Linked DNA regions of Homo sapiens: region 2 is linked to region 1. Evidence: promoter capture Hi-C in 16 types of primary human blood cells and fetal thymus (Javierre and others, 2016). All regions are on one chromosome and are shown on one strand. Each heading gives the region's core, a stretch centred on a gene start or on the middle of the fragment in contact. The rest is flanking DNA. Distances are from core to core; before and after follow the strand shown.

What was found. Contacts are between HindIII fragments. The CHiCAGO score rates a contact against its expected background, and 5 or more counts as called.
Region 2: a fragment that was not itself captured here is called in contact with the fragment with the promoter of MTHFD1 in region 1 in 1 of 17 cell types (fetal thymus); the score reaches 5.0 in fetal thymus.

What each region holds. Positions count from the first base shown.
Region 1 is chr14:64,385,345-64,393,261 of GRCh38, reverse strand. MTHFD1 (methylenetetrahydrofolate dehydrogenase, cyclohydrolase and formyltetrahydrofolate synthetase 1) reads right to left here and starts at 4,909. Exons shown (of 28, transcript NM_005956.4): 1 at 4,794-4,909. The coding sequence starts at 4,834. RefSeq lists enhancers at 1-183, 492-1,225, 5,057-5,146, 5,667-5,726, 5,747-5,846 and 1 more. The HindIII fragment of the contact is 3,471 bases long and covers 2,122-5,592 here.
Region 2 is chr14:63,854,824-63,862,740 of GRCh38, reverse strand. All of the region lies in intron 1 of SYNE2 (spectrin repeat containing nuclear envelope protein 2), which reads right to left. Among named protein-coding and RNA genes, the nearest start is that of SYNE2, 5.8 kb to the right of the region's middle. The HindIII fragment of the contact is 5,881 bases long and covers 2,214-7,917 here.

The DNA of each region.
Region 1 (7,917 bases), core at 3,660-6,159:
ATGCCCAGCTAATTTTGTATTTTTAGTAGAGATGGGGTTTCACCATGTTAGTCAGGCTGGTCTCCAACTCCTGATCTCAGGTGATCCTCCTGCCTGGGCCTCCCAAAGTCCTAGGATTACAGGCATGAGCCACCACGCCCTGCCCAGACAAATCTTTTTAAGCACAAAAGGGCCTACATGTATTTAATCTACAGGACAAAGTAAAAGTCTTATCCATGTTAACTTAGTAACCAAGAAGACCTGCCCTTCACTATGGTAAGCAAATTATTTTCACAAAAACAGTTCTTCTAGCCCTGTAGCTAAATGTACAGCCAAGGTTCCAAACTTTTATCTTTGATCACTAGGATAAATTCTAATTTTAAGTCTCAAGATTATAAGCCAGCTCCCAAAGGTACAGCCTGGATAAACACAAACATCACTTTTTTATTCAATGAGTACTTTCTAAGTACCTATTTATTAAAACTTACCATGTACCAACAACTTCTCTAAATGCTTTATAGGTATTAAACTCATTTAATTCTAACAACCTTATGAGTTAGGTGACATTACTACCCCAATATACAGAAGCTAAGGCACAGAGGTAAATTGCATGACCCAGTGATGCACAGAGGAGGCAGCACCGTGCTTAGGCTCTGGAGCTACCATCCACAGCGAGCTTACAAATATACCCAACTTGCCCTGCACTTGGCCAGCAAACACTCGCAGCACCTACTCAAACCATCTGCCTCTTCACAACCAGTCTCTTTAGAAAGGAGACTTAATCAAGAAAAATGCCACCAATGGAGAGAGCAGGCTTAATTATAGCAAACTAAGGGAAGGAAAAACCAAACAAATCATATAAATGTAGTAAGCCCCCCTTTGAAAGGCCCACTTATAGAACAACTATGCTTTCTTGCCTACAAAGCAAGGTGGGTCTTCCAACACTAATGCACATCCTTCTCCCACTTTGCATAATCTTTTAAAAGACACCACCCTTCTGCCCAGGGCAGGGTCAGGTTCCTCTACTCAGGAGCCTCCACTCGGTCAGCTTCTCACAGGGCCATTGCCATTGACCCCCCAAAGCAGTAAGTTAGTAACTGGTGAGGACAAAGGTCTATGGCACAGGCTGTGTTTTTGGTCAGGAGCTATTTCCCTCACAACATTGGCAGGCTTAAGGCTCCACCTCCTTCAAGTCTTTGCCCGTAAGTCACTTTTACAAAGACTATGACTCCCATATTTAAAATTGCAGCCACCATACCACAGAAACTCCTGTCCCTCTTTTCTGCTCTGGTGTTCTCTTTGTGCTTCCCACCAGCTCACAATGTGTTTCACCTATTTAAATGTCTGTCTCTACCCATCAGTATGCAAGTTTCATGAGGGTAGGGATTTGGGCTGTTTTGTTCACTATTAGACTCTCAGAGCTTTGAAGATTGCCTGGCTTAGGGGACACATACAGCTACTTGTTGAGTAAGTGAATAAATACCCACAAAGAACAGATACTTGTCTCTAACTCTCAGACCTTCCCCCGGTTGTCAAATTCAGGCTGCAAACTTAGAATTCCCCGTGAGGGAGAAAAGGGGCTGTTACTTCCAAAGAAAGATAATTTGGCAACTAAATCCATCATGTAAGTACCCAGTTTCCCACAGAGTAGAGCAGGTAGAGAAGGAATCTGGAATGCTGAACTTTGTTGATGTCCGAGCTCCCAGGAAGGCATAAAAGGAGAATAATAATAGAAGAGGACGAGTCAGGGATAGCATTCTCAGCAGGGTGGGAAACATGCTAATGAGAGGAAGACTGTAAAGAAAAAGCAAAGCGCCAGCGGGGGCGCAGTGGCTCACACCTGTAATCCTAGCACTTTAGGAGGTGGAGGTGGACAGATCACTTGAGGTCAGGAGTTCAAGACCAGCTTGACCAACATGGCGAAACCCCATCTCTACTAAAAATTCAAAAATTAGCCGGGCATAGTAGTGCATGCCCGTAGTCCCAGCTACCTGGGAGGCTGAGGCAGGAGAATCGTTTGAACCCAGGAAGTGGAGGTTACAGTGAGACAACATCGTGCCATTGCACTCCAGCCTGAGCAACAGAGCAAGACCTTGTCTGAAAAATAAAAAGAAAGAAAGAAAGAAAAGAAAAAGAAAAGCTTACGAAATTCCTTTTAGCAAGTAGTAAGTGCTGGTTAGAATGAAAAACATCATATACTGGGTGAAGACCTTAGTTTTAGTTGAGCCATTGCCATTCACCCTTGGACAAATCACATCACTTTTCTGGCCTCAAATGATTTCCTAATCCGCAGGATGGAATGTGGGAAGTGGGCTGGATTTTTAAGAAATTCTAGGACCGGTGCAGTGGCTCATGCCTGTAATCCCAGCACTTTGGGAGGCCGAGGTGGGTGGATCACATGGGGTCAGGAGTTACAGACCAGCCTGACCAACATGGTGAAAGCCCGTCTCTACTAAAAATACAAAAATTAGCCGGACGGGGTGGCACACACCTGTAGTCTCAGCTACTCGGGAGGCTGAGGCAGGAGAATCGCTTGAACCTGGGAGGTGGAGGTTGCAGTGAGCCAAGATCATGCCATTGCACTCCAGCCTGGGCAACAAGAGTGAAACTCTGTCTCAAACAAACAAACAAACTAGCTGGACATGGTGGCGGACGCCTGTAATCCCAGCTACTTGGGAGGCTGAGGCAGGAGAATCGCTTGAACCCAGGAGGCAGAGGTTGCAGTGAGCCGAGATCACGCCATTGTACTCCAGTCTGGGCGACGAGTGAAACTCCATCTCAAAAAAAAAAATTAGCTAGGCGTGATGGCGGGCACCTGTAATCCCAGGTACTCAGGAGGCTGATATGAGAGAATTGCTTGTATGCAGGAGGCAGAGGTTGCAGTGAGCCAAGATTGGACACAGCAAGACTTCATCTCAAAAAAAAAAATAGATCTCAAGGCAGCAGCTACCATGTAAAAAAAAAAAAAGATAATGAATCATTCATATATACATTAACTAATTACTGATTATTAATACAACATATATCGAATACTTATTATGTGCCAGGAAGAATTATAAATGATCATCTGTTAGGAACCCATTTAATTCTACTAACATCCCAATGACCTAGACATTACTTTTACTTAACATTTGAGGAAACTTTGGCACAGAAAGGTTAATTAATTTGCTTAAAACCACACAAGTAGTAAGGCAGGAAACAGGGTTTCCAGGTGTTTAGGATATAGACAAAAATAAGACAATACATGTATTTGCCCTTATGGAGTTGATAAACATATTTAATTTGCTCTCCAATTAACGAAAGTATATTCAGTGAGCACCTATTCTCAGTACTGGCCCAGATGCATTATTATTGTACTAAATTATCTGCACTATTATTATGCACTAAATTATCTCTTCACAATCAGTCTTTCTAAAAGGAAGATTTTTATATTAAAACAAAAAGCCACTGGAAAAGGAAGTAAGTTTGAATACAAGCAAACAAAAACAGAAAGTAAAGCAGAAATACAGTTTAGCAAGCCACATGTTGAAAAGCACTAAGCAGTAAGTATTGTGATTTCTTTTTTTTTTTTTCTTAGACGGAGTTTCGCTCTTGTTGCCCAGGCTGGAGTGCAATGGCGCATCTCAGCTCACTGCAACCTCTGCCCCCCAGGTTCAAGTGATTCTCCTGCCTCAGCCTCCCAAGTAGCTGGGATTACAGATGCCTGCCACCACACTCGGCTAATTTTTTGTATTTTTAGTAGAGATGGGGTTTCACCATTTTGGATAGGCTGGTCTTGAACTCCAGACCTCAGGTGATCCACCCACCTCGGCCTCCCAAAGTGCTGGGATTACAGGCATGAGCCACTGGGCCCGGACTTTTCACCACCGATGACTTTGTAATTCACTCAAAAACCTATTACAAAGTTAGGAGTTACAGGACAATTACAATTTAGTAACTGCTGTGGCTGGCAACAGTTACTTACATAACGGGTGATGTGAAAGGTCCCAAGAGCAAACTCAGTAAGGTCACACAGAATATATCTTTCCCTCCTTCATCTACTAGAGGGAATATATTTTTCCCTCTTCCTTCTACTCTCATTTTTCCTCACCAGTCACCTCCCAGACAAAAAGCAGCCAGTGTTACTTCCTGGGAGTAAAGCTGGCAACGATACCCACTAATTAAGCATTCAGATGTCCCGCAAGGGTAGAACAGGCAGAGGTCAAGTGGAATGCAGAATATTCTCAGGACTCAGGAGCCAAATTACGTTTCAAGTAACTCTAGGACCAGGGCAGAGAGATGGCTGTTAGAGAGAAGCACGAGATTGAAGAGAAAGGAAAAATGTATTAGATTTCACTTAGCGTATGATAAGACTATGGTATAGTGGGAAAAGCTATGAGCTGGAAGGACCCTCTGTCATTATCAGCCTTGTAGTCTTGTCAAGCCTTGTCACCTCACTAGTCTCCATCTACTCACCTCCAAATTAACGGGAATTAAGTAGATTGGATTTCTGAGTTCTGACTAGGGGGGCTCCAGGAAGCCGCAACTACCCACTCTCCCGGCAGAAAGTCACCAGCAGCTGCGCGTTTGGGAGCATAGTCGGCACAGGACTTTTCCCCGAAGCACAGGAGCCAGCGGCTACAGCCACTAGGCAGTCCACTTGCAAACGCAGGTTGTGCCCGGGTTCTCTTTCTTTGGCTGCAGGTCTTCAGGTGTTATGGGCCTAACTCTTCCGCTACAAGTGTCCCTCCCGCAAAAAATGGGTCCGGGGGACCTGCACACCCTCAGAGCCCTCGTCCACAGCCCCACACTCAACAACAATGTCAGGTGCTTACGCGGAGATCTCCTTCCCGTTCAGGATTTCTGCTGGCGCCATGGCCTTTATTAGTCCGCTGCCCACGATGGACACCACCAATATCGAGGTTCCACTCCCTCCGCAGCCAAGCAGGACAACCCAACCCACGTGCTTAGGGACTGGCCAGGGGATCACACTACTGCGCCTGCGCCCCTGCCCGCTTCTCCCCCTGCAGACGCGGTGGCGCATGCGCAGTTCGGAAGGACCCGAGTCCCTTAACTAACCGAGAGCTAACAGGTCGGGGACTGCGGGACGGAAGAGGGAGGGGAAGATGAAGAAAATCGGTGATGAATGGCTGGCGGAAATGATTGGCGGAAAGAAAGAGCCAGTTCACAGTGCGCCTTTGTATTCGGCGGGAAACCCGGCCGAAGAGGGAGCTGGAAAGGACTCCGGAATCCGGCCGTAATTCCAGCCAATCAGGGAGTAGAGTTGCGGGGCGGGGTTGGGGCGGGGCAGTCTCGCGGGAGATAGTTTCGCGGGTTCGGGAGGCGAGTCTCCGGTTTCCGCCCAGTCTCTGGGGACGCGGTGGCGGGGTCTGAATCGCCTGGCTTCCAGGGAGTTTTGGGCGGGTCCCCGCACGGGAGCGTGGCAGGCGCTGGACTCGACAGCAGATGTGGAACTGGAGAGCTTGGCGCGCCCTCATACTTTGTCACACACCTACGCCACCAGACTGGGGTCGGGCCCCTCCGCGTTCTGCTCTGGAGGGCCTGGGTCTGGGCCCAGCATAGCGCTTTTAGAATCTCCTCAGCTGAATCTGACGCTCAGCCGTAGGTGAAGCTTAGCCCGCTGTTTCAGGCCCCGCCGATCTGGAAGGAGTGTCAGAGCTGGAGCGCGCGTGGCCTCATCGGTGTTGGGGTCACCCCGGGGTTGCCAGGGCTCATGGAGGGTCGTAGTCTGGATTTTGTCACCCCCACGTCCCCGCCCCGCAGCAAGTCTGGGGTTGGAGAACTCACGCGGTCTTCGTAAGCTACATGCCAGTTGACCCTCGAGGAGGGATGCTCCCTCCCCTTAAGCGTCCACGCTGGAGAAGGAGTAAGATGGACAATTGCCTGGGGAGCCTGACAGGGCGGTGGCAGCTGGGATGCTGGAGAGGACTGGCCCCTTGTGTTACTGAGTCCAAGGAATATGCTTGCTCTGCTCTAGGAACCGCGTTCAGGTTACAGTCATCCCAGTAGAGTCCTGAAGATGCGTGGTTCAGGTCACTTAGGACTTGACCAGATACCGGGTTTCTTTTACAAGCCGTTTACTACTGGCAGAGCTCATCTAAAACTTTTTTTGTTTGTTTGTTTGAGACGGAGTCTCATTCTGTCGCCCAGGCTGGAGTGCAGTGGCACGATTTTGGCTCACTGCAACCTCCGCTTCCCGGGTTCAAGCAGTTCTCTGCCTCAGCCTCCCGAGTAGCTGGGATTACAGGCACCACCTAATTAGCCCGCCACCACGCCCGGCTAATTTTTGTATTTTTAGTAGAGACGGGGTTTCACCATCTTGGCTAGGCTGGTCTTGAACTCCTGACCTCGTGATCCACCCGCCTCGGCCTCCCAGAGTGCTGGGATTACAGGCGTGAGCCACCGCACCTGGCCTAAAACTGATTTTTTATTAATTTTGGGGCTTTTAATATTTTTTTCTTATTTCTAAATTCTGAGGTTATTTATAGTAGCCCCATATACGGGATTAGATAATCTCTTGTGATTTTCTATTTCTGGTAATTATTTCTAATATATGTTTTTTTGTTTTTGAGACGGAGTCTCGCTATGTCGCTCAGGGTGGAGTGCAGTGGCATGATCTCCGCTCTTTGTAGCCTCTGCCTCCCGGGTTCAAATGATCCTCCCACCTCAGCCCCCCGAGTAGCTTGGACCACAGGTGCATGCCACCACGCCGGCTAATTTTTCTATTTTTGGTAGAGTTGGGGTTTCACTATGTTGACCAGACTGGTCTAGATCTCAAGGGATTAGTCTCCCTTGGCCTCCCAAAATGCTGGGATAATGGGCATGAGCCACCGTGCGTGGCCTTAAAGTTACTATTCTTAAAGTTTGCACAAGTGATATGTTAAAGGCACAGACTTAGTAATATAATGTCATTATAATAATAACCCTAAAACACATTGTCTCATATTGTGTTGTACCTAAACAAGTGAAATTAAGAAGAAAATTGAAGGAAATGTTTCTGGTAAATTGCAGATAGTGAATCTTTTGTCTTATACTATCAAATAGGTATTGACTATTCCAGCTTTCTTATTTGTTGAGGAAGATGGCAGAAATCCCGTTTTACAGAGGGATAGACTTTGAAGGATAATACCCAAAGCTGCATAGCTGTGGCTGGTATAGGCCCCAAACCTGATGTTTCTTCTCTAAATCTACTGCCTTTGCCATCTCAACAGCCTGGTTTTTGACAGTTATCTATGTATGAGTTGCATAAATCGTTCATTCATGGAGCAAATAATTATTGAGTGGCCACTATGCCAACAGCACTGCTATAGATGCTAGAGATACCCTAGTGAACCAGCAAAGTTTCTGCTCTCAGCTCATATTCTGGTGGAGGAGACAACGATCAAGTTAAAGAAATACATAGGCTAATTTTAGAGATTATGACATGCTATATTTTAAAAATAGGCAAGCTAAGAGGATAGGCAGTGATGCTGGGAGGTGGGAAAGTTTTGTCTCAGAAATGTGGTAAGAGATTTCTTTGGGCATCTGACTTCAGCAGAAACCTTAATGAAGAGAGGAACTTGGAATGTAAAAGAAAGAAAGCAGGGATTTGCTCTGAGCAACTGGAAAGATGGAATTGCCATTCGCTGAGTTGAAATAAAGTAAAATGTAGGACTAGGTTTTGGGGTTAAGATTATGAATTCGGCTTTAGACATTTTTAGATTTCTCTTAGACATCCAAATGGAGAGAAGATATTTAAATCCATGGGATTGAATGAGATCCAACCAAGGGTATTGTAGGTAGAGAGAGGACCAAAGACTGACACCTAGAACCTTTCAGTGTTCAGAATGCAAGGAGACAGGAGGAACCAAGAGGGAAGATTGAAAAGGAGAGTCCAGCTGGGAGCTGTGGCTACACCTTTACTAATCCCAGCACTTTGGGAGACCAAATACAGGAAGA
Region 2 (7,917 bases), core at 3,905-6,404, 530 kb after region 1:
ATCTACCTTCCTAAAAACCTGCCTTTCAAATTAAAATTTCCCCTTCAAGTGCAACAATTCAATTTTGGCAGGGCATGCGTGTATAGTCTTTCTTACTATTCTAGAATATTATCTATAAGTATAATGCACATATTGCTAACATAATGACAGTAAATAAAATGTTTTAATAAAATGTATTCACGGTAGTGACAAGTATACTTATTTTTGCCAGGCACAGTGGTTCACGCCTCTAATCCCAGCCCCTTAGGAGGCTAAAGCAGGAGGATTTCTTGAGCCCAGAAGTTTGAGACCAGCCTGGGCAACACAGTGAGATCTCGGTCTCTACAAAATATCAAAACACGAGGCTGGAGGATCACTTGAGCCAAGGAGGTCAGGGCTGCAATAAGCCATAATCACACCACGCTGCACTCCCACCTGGGTGACAGAGCGAGACTTCGCCTCAACAACAAAAAAAGTATACTTTTAGTAGATGTTATGCAAATACGAATATATGTACATGTGTCCAACTGTTGTTTTGTTTTATCCAACTTTTGTGTAAATTAGCTCTAGATAAGTTTTATCTATAATGTAAGGGAAACCAGGAAATGGCTACACATGATTTGGTTTCAAATTCATTTCTAGCACTTTAATATCTCAAATAATTTAAAATCCAATTATTTAAGGATAAAATGATATGATGTATAAAATTTGCTTCAAAATAATCCAGCACGGGTGGGATATGTGAGGACCTGGGTAAAACCAGATTGACAGGATTTAATAATATTCATTCTGGGTAATCGTTATGCAATAGTACATTTTACTATTATCTCTGCTTTTGAATATATTTGAAATTTTTCATAATAAAGTTTTTTAAGTCCAATTTACTATTGCTCCACTGTCAAACATAACTGTATCATTTTGAATTTGTTTTATGTGCTCACTTCAACAACACACATAGTAAAATTGAATTTGTTTTACCTACATTCCTTTTTTTCTTTTTAGTCGGGGTCTCACTGTGTCTCTCACGGCTCACTGCAGCCTCAATCCCCCAGGCTCAGGCGATCCTCCCACCTCAGCCTCCCTAGTACCTGGGACTATAGACATGCACCACCATAGCCCAGCTAATTTTTTTTTTTGAGATTGGGGTCTCACTATGTTGCCCAGGCTGGTCTCAAACTCCTGGGCTCATGTGATCCTCTCGCCTCAGCCTCCCAAAATGCTGGGATTACAGGCATATGCTACAGTGCCCAGCCTACACTGCAATTAATGTTTTATATGATATTAGTGCCAACTAATGCTCTTAAAATACAACGGGGTAGGGCCAGGCACGGTGGCTCATGCCTGTAATCCCAGCACTTTGGGAGGCTGAGGTGGGCGGATCACGAGGTCAGGAGTTCGAGACCAGCATGACCAACATGGTGAAACCCCGTCTCTACTAAAAATACAAAAATTAGCTGGGCGTGGTGGTGCGCACCTGTAATCCCAGCTACTCAGGAGTCTGAGGTAGGATAATCGCTTGAACCCAGGAGGCGAAGGTTGCAGTGAGCTGAGATTGTGCCGCCGCACTCCAGCCTGGGCAACAGAGTAAGACTCCGTCTCAAAAAAAAAAAAAAAAAACAATGTGGTAAATATCACATTTCTTAACCATATGCATAGACTTGAAGAGCTGGAAAAAATCTCAAAGATTGTCTAATCCTCTATGCCCATGGTTCACAGTCTGGAGCATGCATCAGAATCACTTAGAAGGCTTATTAAACACAGATTGCTGGGCCCCACTGTCAAGGTTATACTCAATAGGTTGGCTGCTCCTGGTCCCTGGACCCTACTTTGAGAACCACTGCTCCAGCTGACCATGCTTTGCCCTGCTCATGTTTCCACTGCAGTGACTACCAATTACCCCACTGATTGCATGTTCCTCTGCTTATGGGCCTTTCTGCTTCTAGACAGCTTACAAGTGGCAAGAGACATTGACTTTTACCTGTGTGTCAGAGCCCAGATTCAATAAGTATTTAAAAAATAATTTGTTGAATGAATTAAATAGGGGTACATTTACACAGCCCGATAGAGAAGAGCTACTCACTGATAACAAACTGCACCCAGTGGTAGTACCCAAAGGAAGACTAAAAGTCAGCTGGAACCAGAGCAACAAGTAATTGGCAAATTCTAGGAAAATCCAAGCACCAAATCTCAGATTGAAATTTCCAATCAAATATGGACACTGACAAGCAAAAGCTTGAGGCTCCTTTTTGTCAAATGTGTTACTTTGACCTGAGGGGCTATTAGCAAGTGCTTTTCATCTCACACACCATCAAAAGAAAGAGATGCTTTCACACTTATCTTTCAACTCAACGTTTCTCAGGGTCTGGAAAATGTCAACACAGGAAGATTGATTCCTTCTCCCCATTCACCTCCCTCCTCCTAATGCAGCCCAGAGGAAAGAAAAGGAGGCAGTGCACCCTGCAGAACCTGTCTGGAGGGGAGGGTTCTCCAAGTGCAGGTGCTCTGAATATTGTAATACTCTGCAGTATTCTAAAATATGTTTCTATAACAGCAATGGTCTGCTCTATGATAATTTAGTGGATTTAGTTTAAGAAAATTAGTTTCTAGGCCAGGCACAGAGGCTCACACCTATAATCCTAGTACTTTGGGAGGCCAAAGCAGGCAGATCACTTGGGCCAGAGAGGCAGAGGTTGCAGTGAGCCAAGATGGTGCCACTGCACTCCAGCCAGCTGGGCAACAAAGCTAGACAGACAGACAGATGGTAGGAACGAAGGAAGGAAGGGAGGAAGGGAGGGAGGGAGGGAGGGAGGGAGGGAAGGAAGGGGAGAAGGGAGAAAGAGAGAGAGAAAGAAAAGAGAGAAAGGAGGGAGGAAAGGAGTGGAGTCCACTCCTTTAGTGCAGGCTGCACATAGTGACTTGCTTCTTTCTTTGTTTTCTCTTTTTCCCGAGGCAGAGTCTTGCTCTGTTGCCCAGGCTGGACTGCAGCGTCATGATCTCAGCTCACTGTAACCTCCACCCCCTGAGTTCAAGCAATTCTCCTGCCTCAGCCTCCCAAGTAGCTGGAATTACAGGCATGTGCCACCACACCCAGCTAATTTTGTATTTTTAGTAGAGATGGGATTTCACTATGTTGGCCAGGCTGGTCTCCAGCTCTTGACCTCGTGATCCGCCTGCCTTGGCCTCCCAAACTGCTGGGATTACAGGTGTGAGCCACCACGCCCAGCCAATTTTAAAAGTATTTTTAACTAAATACAAATAAAATCACACCATATCAAAATTTGTGAGATGTCACTAAAGTAGTACTGAGGAATAAATTTAAAAGACTAAACACCTATATCAGAAAAGAAGAAAAGTCACAAATCAATGACCTAAGGAAACTGGAATAAGAACAAATTAAACCCAAAAGTAGAAGGGAAAAATAAAGATCTGAGTGAAAATCAATCAAAGGGAAAATAGAAAAATATTAAACAATATCAATGAAACCAACAGCTGGTTCATGGAGTTCAATAAAATTAATAAACCTCAAGCCTAGAGTGTCTCAACCCTGGCACTACTAACACTTTGGCTGAATAATTCTCTATTGAGAGGATCTCACCTATCCACTGTAGGGTATCTAGCAGCATCCTAGACTTCTGCCCAGTAGATGGCTGGGAACAAATGCCCCTCGTCCCTACACCAGACATGGTTTCCAGACACTGTCTCCAAAAATTACCAAATGTTCCTGGCATAGGTGGGGTAAACTTCCACCCATATTCACACCATAAACAAAAATTAAAGTACATGAACCTAAATGTTAAACCAAAACCTATAAAAATTTTAGAAAAAAATCATAGGAGAAAGCCTTTTTGACTTTGAATTAGGCAGATTTCTTAGATAATAATACCAAAAGTACAATCCATAAAGAATAAATTGACAAATTGTACTTCATCAAAATTAAGAACAGTATCTTCAAAAGATATTGTTAAGAGAATGTAATAAATTTGCTATGGTTTAAATGTCCCCTCCAAAACTCTGGTGAAATTTAATCGCCATCGTAACATTATTAAGAGGCAATACTGTTACAATATTACAGTATTAAGAGATGGAACTTTTATCAGGTGATAGGTTATAAGGGCTCTGCTGTCATTAATGGATTAATGCCATCATCGCAGGAGTGGGTTCCTTATAAAGGAATAAATCAGGCTGAGAGTGGTGGCACGCACCTGGAGTCCCAGCTACTCAGGAGGCTAAGGCAGGAGAATCGCTTGAACCTGGGAGGCAGAGGTTGCAGTGAGCTGAGATCAAGCCACTGCACTCCAGCCTGGGCAACACAGCGAGATACTGTCTCAAAAAAAAAAATAGGCTGGGTGCAGTGGCTCATGCCTGTAATCCCAGCACTTTGGGAGGCCAAGGTGGGCAGATCACTTGAGGCCAGGAGTTCAAGACCATCCTGGCCAACACAGTGAAACCCTGTCTCTACTAAAAATCAAAAAAAAAAAAAAAAAAAAAAAAAAAAAAAAGGCCGGTGTGGAGACGCACACCTGTAATCCCAGGTACCACAATCACTAGAACCCAGGAGGCAGAGGTTGCAGTGAGCTGAGACTGTGTCACTGCACTCCAGCCTGGGTGACAGAGTGAGACTGTGTCTTAAATAAATAAATAAATAATAAAATAAAAATAATAAAACAGCTCCATTTTGCTTCTTTCTCACCCTCTCTTTGCCCTTCTGTCATGTAATGATACAGCAAAAATGCTCTCACCAGATGTCGCCCCATCAATCTTAGACTTCCCAGATTCTAGAACCATGAGCCAATAAATTTCTGTTCATTATAAATTACCCAATCTATGGTATTCTGTAATGGCAGCACAAAATGGACTAAGATAAGACTGAATGGAAATATTTGCAAATCTTACACGTGACAAATGACTTGCATCCAGAATACACAAAGAACTCTCAAAACTCAATAAGAAGGAAAACAATGCAAGAAAACGGGCAAAAAATTTGAGTAGACACTTCAACAAAGAAGATAAATGGATGGTAAATAAGCATATGAAATGATGCTCAACATCATTAGTCATCAGGGAAATGGAAATTAAAACCACAATGAGGTGTCACTACACACCCAACAGAATGGCTATAAAAGCCTAACCACCCCAACTGTTGGCAAGGATCTGGGGCAACTGGAACCCTCATAGACTATTTTGGTTATATTATATAACCACTTTGGAAAAGTATAGTAGTTCTTTGAAAAATTAAACATATGCCTACCATAGGATCTAGTCATTCTACTCCTAGACATCTACCCAGGGGAAATGAAAGATATGCATACAAAGACTGTGTATAATGTTCATGGCAGCTTTATTTTTAATAGCCCAAAACCAGAAACAACCTAAATGTCTATCAATGGGTGAAAAGATACATGAACTGGCGTCTATCAGTACAATGGAGTATTACTTAACAATAAAAAGAAATCAGCTATTGATACAATGTGGATGAGTCTCAAAATAATTATGCTAAGCAAAAGCCAGGCAAAGAAGAGAACTTACTACATGATTCCATTTACATAACATTCTAAAAAACGCAAACTAATCCACAGAGACAGAAAGCTATCATTGGCTGGATGAGGAAGAGGGATTCAGGGTATAGCAAGGAGCTACAGGGAGACAGTTCCACAGGTCTATACATAAGTCAAAAACTTCTCAAATGTAAACACGAGGCCAAGGGCAGACTCATGCCTGTAATCCAGCACTTTGGGAGGCTGAGGTGGGAGGATCACTTGAGGCCAGGAGTTGGAGACCAGCCTAGGCAACATGGTGAGACCTCTTCTCTACAAAAAAATTCACAGTTGGCCAGGCATGGTAGTGTGCACCTGTAGTCAGTTACTTGGGAGGCCGGGGTGGGAGAATCACTTGGGCCCAGGAGGTAGAGGCTACAGTGAGCCATGATCGCACCACTGTACTCCAGCCTGGGTGATAGAACGAGACCTTGTCTCAAAAAAATAAAATAAGTGAATTTACACTACTCCAGACATAATCTTTTATTTGATGAAAGTAGGAAAGGGGGCATTATGACACAGATCCTTTGTACATGTGAAAGCAAGCATTTTGTCTTTAAAAAGAAAAAAAGGAGGGGAACATACAGTGAAGACTCAGAGAATAGGCTATTGTATTTAATATTATTTCTTAATTAAGATGTTGCCAATCTGAAATATTTCACAATAATAAAAAAGGAAAAATGATTGTATGTTTCCAATTTGGCCTGTCCCACTCCCAGGCAGAACTAGGGGCTTCCCTCCTCCCACAGCCCCCAGGAGCACATGTGTATACTGCAATAGCTTGTCTTCCCACTAGACTAACAGCTTCACCAGGACAGGGACTGTCTTTTGATTTTGACATAGTGGTCAGATACAGGTTCGTTAGAGTCTGCGAGCCTGGCTTTGTATTCTAGGCGCTGCCACTCACCTACTGCATAATCTCAGAAAGTTATTCAATCTCCCTGATGCCCAGTTTCTTAAACCATAAAAAGGGCTAATAGGCTACATATGAGGATTCCATGTTAATTTCTCCAGAAAGGCCCTGCATGATCTGACACCTGATTTCCACCCTGTCATTTAGTCCTACCCTCCCTTAACTTGACAGTGCTCAGCCACAATGACCTCTCAGTTCCAATAAATCCACACACCACCTAGCTCTTTCCTGCCTGGAGGCCTTTGAGCATCCTATCTCTCGGCCGGATCTTCTTCCATGCCTGTCTCCTCTCTACAACCTCTTATGCCACAACAACATGGCTAGCTCCTTCTCATCTTCAAGTCTCAGTTAAATGTCACTTCCACCTAGAGGCCTTCTCACCAGTATTCTAGGAGGCCTTGGTTATTCCATGTCCCAGCACTCTGTTATACCCTTCTTTCCACTCAACACTCATTCAAGTTATTGAGGACCTGCTATACGCCAGTTACCGTTCCAGATTCTGAAGGTGTAACAGTGAATAAAACAGCTGTGATACAGTTCTGAAGGATATAAAATCTCCCGAAAAAGACAGACAATAAACAAGCAACATATGATATAGCCATAAGTGCTACGGAGGAAAAATAACAACTTATGAAAGGAGGAATGGGAGTCGCGAGGATGGCTGTGATTTTAAATTTGGAGGTTAGTGAAGGCTCACTGACAAAATAACATCAAGTAAAGAAGTGAAGGGGGTCAGATCAACAAGAGCCATTAGAGATATGGGAGCTAGGGACAGGGGGTCATTCCAGGCAGCGCACAACAAGTCCAAAGGCCCTCATGCAGCAAGAAAGCTGGTTTGGCTGTAGACACTCGAGTAGGGAGGAGAGCAACAGATAAGATAGGAAAGTCACAGCATGGAGAGGCAGGGAAGCCAAAAGAGGTTGTTCTGGGAGCCACTGTCAGGTCTTTGCCATTCACTCAGAGAGACATAGGAAGCCAATGGAGGGTTTTGAACAGAAGAATGATGTGATATGATTTACCTTTCAAAAGCTGCTATTAGTTTAGCAATATATTTTATTTCCTGCCTAGATTCCCCACCTAGATAAGGGCAGGAATCACGACTGTCTTGTGCACCACTATCGCCCCAACACCCAGCACAATACATTGTAGGTACTCAATAAATACTTATAGATGAAAAAGGTAAAAAGGTAATCTATGTAAAATATCTACTGGTATAAAATAAGCATTCTATAAGGAGTAACTATTATTATTCAGATCTCCAGAAGCCAGCACAGTGGCTGGTATATGTAGGAGTTTGAGTAAATGAATAAATAACTTTGTGAAATTATTGAAAATATATATTTAAAACATATAAGTAATGAAAAATATAATAATGAAAAATGAACCAATTGCTTTTCACCCGTTCCCTTATTAAAATGTGATTCATTCAGTTTTTAAATTTTACATTAACTCTCACCTTATGCTAGTGAGAGCACTACTCAGAATAACCTC